4 separate regions of the Homo sapiens genome follow, and regions 1, 3 and 4 are each linked to region 2. The links are contacts of gene promoters, found by promoter capture Hi-C in blood cells and fetal thymus (Javierre and others, 2016). All regions are on one chromosome and are shown on one strand. Each heading gives the region's core, a stretch centred on a gene start or on the middle of the fragment in contact. The rest is flanking DNA. Distances are from core to core; before and after follow the strand shown. Region 1 has its middle 37 kb from the start of STAM2. Region 2 holds the start of FMNL2 (formin like 2). Region 3 has its middle 77 kb from the start of STAM2. Region 4 has its middle 58 kb from the start of STAM2.

Region 1 (3,996 bases), core at 975-3,474, 120 kb after region 2:
TTGGGAGGCTGAGGGGAGAATCAATTGAGCCCAGGAATTTGAGGCTGCCATGAGCTAGGATTGTGCTACTGCTCTCCAGCCTGGGTGACAGAGTGAGACCCTGTCTCTTTAAAATAAAAAAGGTGGAAATAATGAAATCATAGTAATCTAAAAGAAAATATATCTGAATATTTTTCTGAATTCTAAGTAGGAAATTCAGAGAAAACCACAAAACATTAAACACGTTCTTTTCTTCTAAATTCTTCACCTAACAGATTTAAAAGCAATTATATAGTTGTGCCCATAAACATACGTAAAATGCATAAATACATATTTAATTGTATGTGTATATGTAAAGTATATGTATAAAATATGTCATTGGGCCTATACATATAAAATTATAATATACTTTCCAATATCCCTTATAAATAAAGAGAAAAAAATCTTCAGTAAAAACTAGAAAACTGTATTCAGCAGCATATAAAAAGGATTATATACCATGACCAAGTGGAATTTATCCCAGGAATACAAGGTTGGTTCAACATATGAAAATTAGCCAATGTAATATATCATATAAATAGAATAAAGAGGAAAAAATTGTCATCTCAATAAATACAGAAATAATATTTATCAAATTCAACACCATTTCATGATTTTAAAAAAACAACCTAATAAACTGGGAATAGAAGAAAACCTTTTTTTTTTTTTTTTTTTTTGAGATGGGGTCTCACTGTGTCACCCAAGCTGGAGTGCAGTGGCACAATCATAACTCACTGCAGCCTTGACTGCTTGGGCTCAAGCAATCCTCCTGCCTCAGCCTCCTGAGTAACTGGGACCATAGGCACATGCCACCATGCCCAGATAACTTTTGTATTATTTGTAGAGACAAGGTCTCACTTTGTTGCCCAGGTTGGTCTCAAACTCCTGGGCTCATGCAATCTTTTTATCTTGGCCTCCCAAAGTGCTTGGATTACAGGTGTGAGCCACTGCACCAAGCCGAAGGGAACTTCCTTAACCTCACAAAGGGCATCAGTGAAAAATCCACAGCTGGCTGAGGACAATGGCTCATGCCTGTAATCCCAGCACTTTAGGAGGTGGAGGCAGGTGGATCACATGAGGTCAGGAGTTCAAGACCATCCTGGACAACACAGCGAAACCCCGTCTCTATGAAAAATACAAAAAAATTAGCCAGATGTGGTGGCCCCCACCCTGTAATCCCAGCTACTTGGGAGGCTGAGACATAAGAATAGCTTGAAACTGGGAGGCGGAGGTTGCAGTGAGCCAAGATGGTGCCACTGCACTCCAACCTGGGCCACAGAGCAAGACCCCGCCTCAAAAAAAAAAAAAAAAAACAAAAGAAATATCCACAGCTAGCATTGTATTTAATGGTAAAAGACTAGATGATTTTACCATAAGATTAGCAACAAGGCAAGGATATCCACTCTTGCCACTTTTATTCAACATTGTACTAGAGATTCTAGCCGGGGCAGATTGGAAAAGAAGTAAAACTAAATCTATTCTCAGATAACAAGATATTGTATATAGAAAGTCCTAAAATTTTCACTAAAAAACTATTGGACCTAATAAATGAGTTCAGCAAGTTTGCAGGATGTAAGATCGATATGCAAAAATCAATTGTATTTCTTCTAACTTGCAGTAAGCAATCTGAAAATGAAATTAAGAAAACAATCCCATCATAATAGCATTGAAAATAATAACATACTTAGGAATGAATTTAATGAAAGAAGTGAAAAACTTAAATTCTGAAACCTACAAAACTGTTGAAATTAATTAAAGAAGATTTAAGTGAGTGGAAAAACAACCCATATTCACGGATCAGGAGATTTAATATTGTTAAGATGGTGCTATGGTTTGGATGTGGCAATCCTGACAAAACTCAAGTTTAAATTTGATTTCCAGTGTGCAGTGTTGGCAGGCAGGACCTAGTGGAGGTGTTTGGGTCACAGGGGAAGATCCCTCATGAATAGATTAATGCCCTCTCATAAGAATGAGTGAATTCTCACTCTCCCAGGAGTGGAATGGTTCCTAGGAAAGCAGGTTGTTAAAAAGAGTCTGGCTTCCTCCATTTATCTTTTGCTTCGTCTCTTGCCACATGATCTCTTTGCACATACCTATGCCCCTTCTGTTTCCTACCATGAGTTGAAGCAGCATGAGGCCCTCACCAGATGCAGTTGCCAAATCTTGAACTTTTCATCCACCAGAATCATAAGCCAAATAAATCTCTTTTCAAGTTACCCAGCATTCAGTGACAGCAACACTAAACAGGACTAAGAAAAATGGCAATAATCTCCAAACCGATCTACAGATTTAATGCAATTACTCTCAGCATCCAGCTGGCATCTTTGTGGAAATTAACAAACTGACCCTAAAATTTATATGGAAACTCAAGGGACCCAGAATAGCTGGAACAATCTTTTAAGAAGAACAAAGTTGGGGGACTTCCCAATTTCAAAACTTACTACAAAGCAACAGTAATCAAGACAACGTGCGGCCAGGCATGGTAGCTCACTCCTGTAACCCTAACACTTTGGGAGTCTGAGGGGGGTGGATCACTTGAGGTCAGGAGTTTGTGACCAGCCTGGCCAACATGGTGAAACCCACCTCTACCAAAAAATACAAAAATTAGGTGGTCATGGTGGTATGCACCTGTAGTCCTAGCTACTCAGGAGGCTGAGGTGGGAGAATTGCTTGAACCCAGGAGATGGAGGTTGCAGTGAGCTGAGATTACACCACTGCACTCCAGCCTGGGTGACAGAGTAAGACCCCCCCCAAAAAATGTGATGCTGGCATAAGGACAGACATAGAGATCAATGGAATAGAACTGAGAATTTACTCTAAACCCTCTCATTTACAGTTATTACCTGCCTGCAAGGATCCCAAAACAATTTAATGGAGAAAAATAGTCTTTTCAACAAACAACAATGGGACAACTGTATAGCCACAGGCAAAAGAATTATTTTCGACTCCTACCTCATACTATACAAAACTTAACTAAAAATGGATCAAACACCTAAACATTAATGTCAAAATTATAAAATGTAAGAGCTAAAATCTTCTCTGTTTTTGAGACGGAGTTTTGCTCTTGTTGCCCAGGCTGGAGTGCAATGGCACGATCTCCGCTCACCACAACCTCCGCCTCCTGGGTTCAAGCAATTCTCCTGCCTCAGCCTCCCAAGTAGCTGGGATTACAGGCATGTGCTACCACACCCAGCTAATTTTGTATTTTTAGTAGAGATGGCATTTCACCATGTTGGTCAGGCTGGTCTAACTCCCGACCTCAGGTGATCCGCCCACCTCGGCCTCCCAAAGTGCTGGGATTATAAGGCATAAGCCACCAGGCCTGGCCTAAGAGCTAAAATCTCCTAATCTTAGAGGAGAAGATAGGAGTAAATCTTCATGACCTTGGATTCTGCAACATTTTCTTAGATACGACACTAAAGGCATGAGCAAGAAAAATAACAAAAATAGATAAATTGAGGTTTGTCAAAATTAAATACATTGGTGTGTCAAAGGATACTGTCAAGAAAGTGAGCCAAGGGCAATGATTCATACCTGTAATCCTAGCACTTTTGGAGACCATGGCAGGAGGATCGTTTGAGCCCAGGAGTTCAAGACCAGCCCAGGCAGCATAGTGAGATCCCAGCTCTAAAAAAAAAAAAAAAATTAGTTGGGCTTGGTGGTGTGTGCCTGTAGTCCCAGATGCTTGGGAGGCTAAGGTGGGAGGATCACTTGAGCCCAGGAGGTCAAGGCTGCAGTCAGCTGTGATTGTGCCACTGAACTCCAGCCTGGGTGACAGTAAGACCCTGTCTCAAGAAAAAGTGCAAAGACAACTCACGGAATGGGAGAAAATACTAACAATTCATACATTGGACAAGATTGGACAAGGGCTTGTATCTAGAATATATAAAGTACTCCTACAATTAAATAATAAAAAGATAAGTAATCCAATTTAAAAATGGACAAAGGATCTTAAGACAATTCTCCAAAGAGGATATA
Region 2 (3,746 bases), core at 1,231-3,730:
TTTGCAACTGCTAGCCTTAACAAGAACACAAATCCACCATGTTAATGATGGGACATTATTTTTCTAAAGATTAATTCACACCATGTGTTATTAATCAGCAGGGTAAATGAAAGCTCAAGCAAAAAAAAATGCTATCCTAGTCAAGCAGAACTTAATTGCATTATTGTTATTATTATGGCTGCTGCACTGGTTTCCCTGTGTCACTGGCTCCTCCACCACAAGTATTCAGACACACACACACACACACACACACACACACACAGAGCACCACAGCATGGATGGAAAAACAAAAAAGCCAGAGCCAGGAGGAAAAAAAGCCAGAGCCAGGAGGTAAGAACCATATGTCTAGTAGGAAGAGGGTTTTGAAGAAAAACGTTTGTCTCTGGAAAAGCAGGTCAAGTATGCACCCAGGCCGCCTTGAGAGTTATGCCTAGGCCGTTTCATTTCAGTGTCCCATCTTGCACAACGGTGGGAGCAGCTGTGGGAGATCACAGGAGATGCAAAGCAACACAAGCAACCTCATCTGTCTCCCCGACGGCCACACCAGAGTTTCCAGGTGGCGGGAGAGAGAGCTCAGTTCTCCCAAAGAGCACACAGCTAACCTGCCATCCAGAACATCACTTCCCATACCAAACCATTCCTTTTTCAAGGCCTGAAGGCAGGCAATTTGAACGTCCTGTAGCTGAGCACACCTCAGAAAACCGATTTTTGATCTAGAACTCGAGTCCTCTGCCAAAGTTCTAAGTTTTCATGAAAACAAAAGAAGAAAAGAAAACCCGCAGGCAGGCACAATCGTTGGCTGCCCGGATCACGAGTTTCCCTTGCTGCCTAGTCTTGTGGAGTTTAGAGGTAACCAACTAGGAAAAGAGAAGTGTCCAAGTGTCAGGAGTAGGAATGAGCCCAATCTCGCCTGTGTGTGTCCCTCCCAACATCCCTTAGAAGAGGCTGGGACACTAAAACTGGTAGTCTGGGGGACCAACAGCAGTCCAGATCCTGGCTGGGGCAAGCCGCCACACCCTCTGCAGCTCACAGCACAAGCCTCGGCTGGGAGGGGCCCAGACACTGTCCCAGCAGGAAAGGGAGAAAGAGGGGAGTTTTCAGAGTCCTGGATTTGAGGAGCTGGAAAGCTGGGAGAAGCGGAATGCAGGAGGGAGCGGGGGACCTGGCTGGGCGTGCAAGAGGAGGGGAGGGGTCGCCCGTGCAGTCAGGACAGCTCGCAACACGTCCCCGCAAAACTCCACATTTTTGTGGTTTAAGATTTAAGTCTAGAGGGAACGCGCTGAGGTTCTCCCCGGCCTGGGTTTCAGATGCCCCTGCTCCTCGCCAAGGGCCGGGGCGCCGCACTGCTGTGGGTCTCCGCTTTCCCTTTCGGGGAAGCTCCCCTTGGCCAAGCCGCGACGTGAGCCCTCCAAGTTCGCCTCCGCTCACCGCCCGGCGCGGCGCCCGCGGCCGGCCACATGCGCCCCATCTGCCGGGGACTTCGCAGGTCCCGGGCTGGCCGCCCGAGGGATGGTCCGCAGGGGCTCAGGGTGTTTTGTTTTGTTTTGTTTTGTTTTGTTTTTTTTAAAAAAAAAGCCTAAGCGGCTCGCCACCTCCTCCTCCCAGCCCGCGCCACCTTCTCTTCACGCCCACGCCGCACCTCCCGGGCACACGCGCCGTGAGGTGCCTCTCCAGCCAGACAATGGGTTCGAGGCTGGTTGGGCAGCCGGCCCTGAGCCCCCATCCCCATCCCGGGACCCCGAGAGACTGAGCGCGGGGGACTGCCAGGGGGGTGAAGAGGAGTGCTGGGGGGCCACAAAGGGGAAAGCGGGAGCCTCCCCCTCGGGAATGGAGGCTCGCTCCCGGCACGGGGTGAAGGGGAGGGGCGGGGGTCAGCTGCGCCGCCCGGCCCGGGGCCCCGGGTCCCCGCGCCCGACCGCCGCCGCGCACTTACCAGCACGATGGCAAATCGCTCCTCCAGTTCACCTGGCTCTGGCATCGGCAGCTTCAAAGGCACGTTGTGCGCCCTGAAATCGGTCTGCTGCGAATCCATGCTCCCTGCGTTGCCCATGTCGGCGGCGCGCCGGGGCCGGGGGCTGCTCCGGGCCCCTAGCGTGCGCGTCGGAAATCAGAACAGCTCCCGGCGGTCGGCTGCCGCCCGCAGGCGCGACCTGCCCGGCTCCCCGCCCTCCGCCGCGCCCAGGCGGGTGTGCGGCGCGCACCGCTCCCTAGCAGCGCTCCAAGCCGAGCCGCCCCCCGGCCTCCCTCATGCTCTCCGCCGCCCCAGCGCGGCCCCGGCCTCTTTTCCTCGGGAGGGGTAGTTGGGGCGCTGGGCGCCTATGTGCATGGTGCTCCGCTGGCACACCGCCCCCTGCCAGAGATCGCGGCCCCCGGCGCGTGGTCCCTCCTACTCGGCCTTCTGCCGGGCCCGCGGCCGCCGCTGACACTTCCAGCCCTAGCCGGCCACGGCTGCGCCTGCCTGGCTAGCACCTGGAGCAGACAAATGCAGCTCCGCGCTCCCCTACACAATGCCACCTCTCGCCCGGCGCCCGGCCCCCGCCCCCGGCCCGGCTCCGCCCACTCGCCCCGCGGACTGCCGGGACGCGTAGTTTCTCTCCAAAGTGTCCGCGCGCAGAAACCACGCCTGCTCTAGAGCGCCAGGCCGGGTTGGGACCATTTGCAGCAAAGGCGATCCGTAGTCTCTGGAGATAGCATATTGTCACTTTTGACCCTCCTCACCCCAACAGTGGAATACTTACATCGTGTATATCATGTTGACACTTGGTAGGCGGGTCTGACCATGACGGAATCGAATCAATGAATGAAGGAATGCATGCCTTCTGATTAAAATTCAGAAAATCGTTGCTGTTTTTAAAAGATCTAGTTCAGTAAGGAACTTCGAAAGCACTGGCAAAGTTCTGTTTCATAAACGGGGGGGTGGGTCCATGGGTGCTTGTTTATCGTTCTTTCTTCCATATATATGTTCTTTGGTGTGATTGAAATGTTTTATAAACAGATGTATAATTTATGGGTATATATAGTCAGACCCTAGGAGCTAGGTAAGGATTCAATTCAATTTAAAAAAAAAACCTGTCAAACACCTATTATGTATGGGATATTGTGTTCCTTGGTGGGAGAAAAAAGAGATTTGCCCTGCGCTGGAATACTTGCCAATCTAGTGAAGGAAAAAATGTACACACCCATATTTCATGTGAGATGGATATAATGATAGAGTGTTCTGGGAGACTTTGGGATGATCTTTGGCTGCAGCTCTCTTATTCCTTCACAGCAGTCTTGAGCAAGGTGTCTTACAGAAAAGATTGGACCTGACTCTGTCCTCTGGGGTGTATTTCAGACTATAACTACCCGTTCTGAAACCTCGGAAATAGAAATAGCCTTATAAGAGACTTTAGCCAACTGCTCATGTGAATGTTAAGGGCATACATCTGGTTGACTTGTGGCTGAACTTCTGCAGTTAGTCCTTTCTTAGTTTAAAGCAGTGTTTCTTAATCCTAGATGTGTATCAGATTCGCTTGGGAAGCTTTTTGTTAAAACTACACACACCTTGGGCTCTGCGTATTATCAGAATCTCCCTAAGCTGAGAGCCGAAGCCTGGGCCGGTGTATTTTCAACAAGCTCCCCAGGTGATTTTGATATGCAGGTAAGGTTGTTATCCTTTTAGTAAATAGCAAGTGTTTCTGGACAAGGTAGTACACCAAGATTCAATCAAGGACATTTCATTCATCTTTATAAACTTCAAGATACTT
Region 3 (3,593 bases), core at 461-2,960, 83 kb after region 2:
ATTTAGAAAAGACTAAGGAAACCAGCCTTACTAGGATATAAAGTTCAATTTCCTTAGTGGTAGAGCATAAATTTTGATAAGTGTTGCTAGACTATGTACTCTGACTCAGGTACAGGGAGTTCAAGGACTGTTTCATCTTCCAAATATTCCAAAATGAGTTGCAATCTTTTTCCTTTGTATTTTGGTGAGTGTGAATAAGGTCTCTGCAATTTAAATTAACAATATTGCCTCTGTTTGAAAACCTTGTCACATTTTATCAGTAACTTTCCTCCTGTTTCTAACACCTTTTATTGGCTCCCTATGGTGAATTTATGTGTTTGCCTTACAGTGTTCTGTGTTGAAGAATTTAGTGCTGTTACAGTTAACTGGAACAGAGATTCAATATATATTTCAAAGTTTCTAACAACCTAACCAAAAATGTCCAACTCAATAAATTCACACAAGGACCTAGAGTTGGTCAGAGCCATTGTCAATTGAAAATCAAACTCCTGCCAAGTGCTGTGGCCCACACCTGTAATCCCAGCACTTTGGCAGGCCAAGTTGCATGGATCACTTGTGGTCAGGAGTTCAAGACCAGCCTGGCCAACATGGTGAAACCCCATTTCTACTACAAATACAAAAATTACCTAGGCGTGGTGGCGCACGCATGCAATCCCAGCTATTTGGGTGGCTGAGGCACGAGAATTGCTTGAACCTGGGAGGTGGAAGTTGCAGTGAGCCAAGATCGCATCACTACAGAAAGAAAAGAAAAGAAAGCCCCCCAAATGCTTAAACTTTATATAACCACAATCAGTTCTCCACATTCTACATTGTTCATTAATTCATTCAACATTTGGGCACCAACTATAAGTTGAGAACCATGGTAGGTGATGGAAATGTGGAAATGAAAGGCCCAACTCTTCCCAGGTGTATAGGTAAGACAAACAAGTAAAAGATAATAATATTAGTGCTATGATGGAGGACAGCATAGGGGGCAAATAGGCAAATGTTCCTTGCTTGGATGCAGATGGGAAGTCACAAAAGATGTCTGGTATCTGAGCTAAGTTTCGAAATTCCAGGAGCAGTTATTTAACCAGCTACGAATTGGCAGAGTGGGTTACTGGAGGAGGTAACAGCATATGCAAAGGTTCAAATGAAAGAAAGACCTACACGGGACAGTAAGAGAATCCCCAAGTGATTTGGCATCTTGGAGCATCAAATGGGAAAAGTGACAGAGTTGAGGCAGGAGGGATTAGCAGGGACAGATTCAAAAGACTGAGTTCTGCAGTGCACTGGAGGCACCTTGGAGACACTGATAAAATTTAAGCATCTTATGGCAGGGCGGAAGATTTGGTTAAGGAAATTAGTTAGGTAACTTTTGCAGTCATTCAGGTGAGAAATTATAGGACTTTGAACAGATGGGGAGGTAAAAGAGGAAACAAACACTACAATTGCTTAGGAAGTAGTGTCTGTTAGGTTTGGTAATTGGCTATCTAAGAACTTATGGAGGAAAGAAACCAGGTGATCCTTTTCTTTTTCTTAAAAGACCAAAGATCTCACTGGAGGTATAAAGTCAATTTATACCTTTGACAGGTCACTTTATAAGTGTGAAATTCAAGTAAAAAGTTGAGCCATGAAGCTTCTCTTTTATCCAGGGCAGGGTGAGTTTCCCTAGGTTTGTGCTATTGGGCTTGTAGTTTACAGAAGAAAGTTTAGACAGGCTGTCTTTTAAAGGAATCTAAATTTATTTACTAAACGTATTCTTTTTATGATAATGAAAAATGAATTGCCAATCATCTTATACAGCCATATACTGAAGCTTTAGCTTCCTTCTTTTTGTCAGATCTTAAAAAATGCTATATGGCTAGAGCTACTCCACCTATATCCCAGCTCCTATAATATCTACCTTATCTGATGAACGTGAGGCAAGAGTAAGCTCAGTCTTCTTTGCAGCTTCATCAGGATAAGGAAATAAGAGTAAGTAGAGCATTCCAACATGTTTTTAGTATAATGAGATCACATTTGTCCTCAACACAGAAAAATACTGTTGCCATCTTTACAGTTAGTTTTTTTTTTAACTTAAAAATCATCCATATGTGCTCAGATTCCAAATGACAAAAGCCATTCATTTTTGTCTACTTCAAGTGAAATGGAGTCATTGTTTGAAGAAAAGATTACAGGATTATAGCTAAGTCTTTTCCCCTGGGGAGTGAGTGGCAGTTTAGTAGCAACCGTGTGGTTCTGCCACATGGCTGGATCACAGCACCACATCCTCAAACCAAGGGCGGGGCAGACACACAGTGGGGACTGGAAATCATAAGGGACAAAGGAAAGGAGAAATCTGTCATTTGAAAGGAAAAAAGAATAAAGAACAGAAAGAAGTCTCCTGAAATTCCAAGTTTTTAGGTTTAAAGAGACAATGTGACATGCACAGCTGTAAGAAAAGCTGCTTCATGTCCCACATTTCTGGTCACACACAGTTGCCGGTTGAGTCCTGCTGACTGTTTCTCTTTGCCTCACTTTTCTTTGTTAACGCTTTTCTTTGCAAGATGCTGCAGTGAACAACTGGAAGAGTGACCTCCGTCCCGGTACCAAACAGGTGACTAAAACAAGCCTAGAGAACCAAATCATTGTCTTTGGACTAAAACACTTATTTCGTTCATTTGAGGCTTCTGACTTCCTTTTGGATCACTATCTTGAGATGCCCACATGTGGCCTCCAAAGCTCTTTCTTGAATAAGTTTATTTTCCAAAAAGTGATATATGCCATATGTTCAAGTGTTTAATAACAGTTCTTTTTCTTGGCTGCAAGCTAGGGGATGAATAGAAGTGCAGCATAGGAAAATACGATAAAGAACACAGTTGCATCTCTTGAGGAATTGAAGTTGTTTTAAAACATGTGCTAAGAATTCCTTGCCTGATCTTTGGGAGGAGTAGTTTGAAAGTTTCAGTGTTGTTGTCACCATTTTTCAGATATGGAAAGGAGGCAGACTAGTTAAGCAAGCCTGGCATGCGATGTAAAAATGTATCAGGGTCCAAGGAAATGTTTTTTAACCATTACTGACCCTTCAACTTTTTCATGAAGTTCTCACTTAAAGTTCATAGTTATTATCTTTGCCTCATCCCACTATATTAGGCTAAGAATTACAGCACCTAAGCCTCCCCAAGAATATAAAAGCCATCTAAGGTCCAGCTGTATCAGTTATTCTTTTGATTAAAAGAGTCAGAAATACATTTCAAATTGGTTTAAGCAAAAAGAAGTTATTGGTTCATATAGCTAAAGCCAAGGAGTATATCTAGCTTCAGGCATGGCTGGATCAAGGTGCTTACATGATAATGCATGGAATCTGTCTTTTTCTCCAAGTCACAGATCTGCTTTCCTTTATGTTGGATTCATTTTCTGATGTGGTGGCAAGATGATTATTAGCAGCCCCAGGTTTGGTAATACTAGTAGAAAGAGATTCAATTTCTACATAATCCTTTTAGCAATTTTAGGCAAGGCTCTCATTGGCCTGACTTAGGTCCTATGCCCATTCTCGAACCAGCCACAGTGTCAAGGGCTTGAAATATGTTTAACTGGCCCTCATGGGAGCCAAAGATGGATCCGACCTCACT
Region 4 (3,574 bases), core at 223-2,722, 100 kb after region 2:
TTGAAAACCAGCCTGGACAATGCACTAGAAACTGTACACTGAAATATTCACCAGACAATGGGGAAATGAAAGGACTAACCAAACTTCATACACCCTCAGTACTCGAGGGCCCCATTTTATCCCTTTTCAGCATTCACCCCATTTCAGAATTCTAGGACTGAATGTTCCTAAGGAGATCATTTCTTCATATACATAGCTCAGCACAAGAAACTGTTACATCCTGCAAAAATTAATTATAAAATTGCTCCAGCCCATAGTGAAGGCTGAGGTGATAGAAAACATTGGGGCAGACTATGATGAATCTCCAGGCTTGGCCATTGTTAGACTCCACCTCATTTCTCTCTGCCTTCATCCCTCAGCTTTCTGTAGATTGGTCCACAATTTGCTTAGGCCTTGTCTCGGTTCTTAAGCAAATTAAAAAAAAAAAATCCTGCCCCCCTCTACTTCTTCCCTGCCCCCAGTCTGTTAGGACTTAATATTATTAAGTTCATTACCAGCCTAGGGTTCTAGAGACTCAATTACTACTGTTGCAGCTCTGGGTTCCTTTTCCAGCATCTGAGATCTCTATTTCTTATGACCATAAGTACAACCATGATTGTGCATGCCTTATGCCCAAGTCCCCAGCAATGACTACCTTTGCTGACATCTCCTACCGTCACCACCCACGGCCCTATGGCTTTGTACTCATGGGCTAAGATGCTAAAAACAGAACCCTTCCCCCAATGCCTCCCAGGTCCCTTCTTAAAAGAGAATGTACTATTTCTTTGCAAGAACACCACCTTATTCAAGACTGAGGATCTACTAGGGTACATTTATGAATATCTAGGTCCAAGTTTGTCCAAATGGGCAAGATCTTAGTGGTCCTTGGTATTAGATTTACTTGCCCAATTTCCTCAATCCAAGCTTTTCAGATCTGGGTTCTATATTGTCTTACTGCCCAACAAATCTACTTTCTCTTTCTAATTCCATCTTATGTCTGTGCTCTACATTCTCCTAGGCACTGAAGAAATAAGGGCCCTACAAAGTTCTTAAGGTGCTATCAAGATCTCCAGAACACTTTGCTCAAGATCTTTTATACCATCAGATCCTACCTTGGCTCCAGTCTTACAAGACTCTGCTCATTCCTAACTCTGACTCATCCCTTTCTCTGATTCTCCTTTTAATTTATTGCATCCTTCTCATTTGGATGCCCAGAACCCACCTGTCTTTCACTGGCACCTAACCTCTCCTAGCTGTATAGAGCATGACTGCCAAAGTAGCATATAGTTTACAGTACAGAAATTTCCAAACAAGGAGTATTCAGTATGTCACATGCAAACTGGAGAGTTAGATAGGAGGAAAGCATTCCCCAAATGAACACATTTAATTTAGGCCTAAAATGTCTGGTATGAACCTGAGCTAATATAATTAAATTTTTCCAAAATGTAGGTGCTCAAGAAGAAAAAATGCAAATGATGATTTACTAAAGTGGTGAAATCAAACAGAATGCCAATGTACAGGACTGGTGGGAATGAGAGGAAATGAGTGTTTTCATAAATGATTAATGGAAATGTAAAGCAGTACACATTTGGGAGAAAGTAATTTGGCAATATCTATTGAAATTTAAAAGGCACATACCTTTGACCTAACAATCCCACTTTAACAAATACTTATCAAGTTAAAAACCAGAAAAACCATATTGAGCAAGGAGATTGGTCCAGACCCTCATGGAGCAAGTTTTCATGAAGGAGATAGAAAAATGAATCAAATCACCAAAGAGACTGATGTTACTAAACTACAATTGTGATGTATTTTATGAAGGAAAATGCATAATACATGCACATGAGGGGACTGATCAAGTCTGCAGAGTCAGGAAAGAATTCCCTGTGGAAGTGCGATCAAAGAATGAGTAGGAATAAGCAGAGCAAAAGGGAAAAGTGTAGGAGTAAAGTGGGTGTAAAGGAGGGGAAACATACATTCCAGACAGAAAGAACAGCATATAGAAGCATTTCCTCGATCTCACCACATCCACCTATTACACAGGTCCAGCAAGCCAAGCTTATTCCCATATGAGAGTCTGCATTTTCTGTTCCCTTTGTCTGAATGCTCTTCCCCATCATCTCTGCATGGCTGGCTACTTTTTCATAAGGTATTATAACAAATTATAAGAAATCCCACCTCTGCCAACTTAATAAGGAGCCAGTTAATCATTTTCCTTTTTTTTTTTTTTTTTTTTTGAGACATAGTCTCACTCTGTCGCCCAGGCTTGAGTGCAGTGGCGCGATCTCGGCTCACTGCAAGCTCCGCCTCCCGGGTTCACACCATTCTCCTGCCTCAGCCTCCCAAGTAGCTGGGATTACCGGCGCCTGCCACCACGCCCGGCTAATTTTTTGTATTTTTAGTAGAGACAGGGTTTCACCGTGTTAGCCAGGATGGTCTCAATCTCCTGACCTCGTGATCCGCCAGCATTGGCCTCCCAAAGTGCTGGGATTACAGGCGTGAGCCACCGCGCCCAGCCAATCATTTTCTCTTATATCAGCTTCAATATATTCTCAGCATAGTAATTTACAGTGATCACTATCTGATACTTGTCTTGCATATTTATTTTTGTGTTTGTCTTTTGTATGTCTTCTCCTGCTCCACTAGAAGTAAGCACCATTCAGAACAGAAGCCTTGCCTGTATTTTCATTGATATTACTTGAACCTTGAAGTAAACAATGATGTTCTGCAGATGGAGGGAGCATGGGAGAACATTGGAGGAATTGAAAGAAAGCTGGTGTGGCTGAAAAGCAGAAAGTAAGGTGGGAAAGTCAATCTGGCTATAGATGGAAACTCTATTAGAGTAGATAAGAGTGAGTGACAGAGCTCAACTAGGGAGATATTACAATGGTGAGTGATGGTAACAGCATGACTTAGTTGGGTAGCAGTGGAGATGGGGAAAGTGGATGGACCAAAGAAATATTTAGGGGTGCCGGGCACCCTGGCTCATGCCTGTAATCCCAGCACTTTGGGAGGCCGAGGCGGGAGGATCACGAGGTCAGGAGATCAAGACCATCCTGGCTAACAGGGTGAAACCCTGTCTCTACTAAAAATACAAAAAAAAAAAATTAGCCAGGCATGGTGGCAGGCGCCTCTAGTCCCAGCTACTCGGGAGGCTGAGGCAGGAGAATGGTGTGAACCTGGGAGGCGGAACTTGCAGTGAGCCAAGATCACACCACTGCACTCCAGCCTGGGTGACAGAGCAAGACTCCATCTCAAAAAAAAAAAAAAAAAGAAAAGAAAGAAATATTTAGGGGGTAAAACTATGCTGGGTGATTAATTTTATAAGGGTATTTATTTCTGCTTGTACAACTGTTTGAATGGCAGTACCACTGACTAAGATAGAAATACTGAGGAGGACTGGGTTTGATGGTATTATGAGTTTAGTTTTAGATATAATGAGTTTGTGGCAGGAGGATTTATGGGTCAGGGGTCATGAAGAGAGGTATGGAGTGGAAAAATAAATCAAAAGTAATTTTAAAAGTTAACAGATGTGTTTCACTCTTCATGGTTGTGGAATACAGAGTCTTCGTGTATGTATTAGTCTGTTCTCATG

The links. The method cuts DNA at HindIII sites, captures the fragments that hold promoters and counts their contacts. A CHiCAGO score of 5 or more calls a contact.
Region 1: a fragment that was not itself captured here is called in contact with the fragment with the promoter of FMNL2 in region 2 in 4 of 17 cell types (M2 macrophages, M1 macrophages, M0 macrophages and 1 more); the score reaches 11.3 in M2 macrophages.
Region 3: a contact is called between a fragment that was not itself captured here and the fragment with the promoter of FMNL2 in region 2, in 2 of 17 cell types (M1 macrophages and M0 macrophages). The highest score is 7.4, in M1 macrophages.
Region 4: a fragment that was not itself captured here is called in contact with the fragment with the promoter of FMNL2 in region 2 in 4 of 17 cell types (M2 macrophages, M0 macrophages, M1 macrophages and 1 more); the score reaches 6.1 in M2 macrophages.

The regions. Positions count from the first base shown.
Region 1 is chr2:152,211,008-152,215,003 of GRCh38, reverse strand. No RefSeq gene overlaps it. Among named protein-coding and RNA genes, the nearest start is that of STAM2, 37 kb to the right of the region's middle. The HindIII fragment of the contact is 6,835 bases long and covers 1-3,996 here.
Region 2 is chr2:152,333,908-152,337,653 of GRCh38, reverse strand. FMNL2 (formin like 2) reads right to left here and starts at 2,480. Exons shown (of 26, transcript NM_052905.4): 1 at 1,934-2,480. The coding sequence starts at 2,050. RefSeq lists silencers at 1,421-1,520, 2,031-2,680. The HindIII fragment of the contact is 3,556 bases long and covers 1-3,522 here.
Region 3 is chr2:152,250,611-152,254,203 of GRCh38, reverse strand. No RefSeq gene overlaps it. Among named protein-coding and RNA genes, the nearest start is that of STAM2, 77 kb to the right of the region's middle. The HindIII fragment of the contact is 180 bases long and covers 1,621-1,800 here.
Region 4 is chr2:152,232,045-152,235,618 of GRCh38, reverse strand. No RefSeq gene overlaps it. Among named protein-coding and RNA genes, the nearest start is that of STAM2, 58 kb to the right of the region's middle. The HindIII fragment of the contact is 1,134 bases long and covers 906-2,039 here.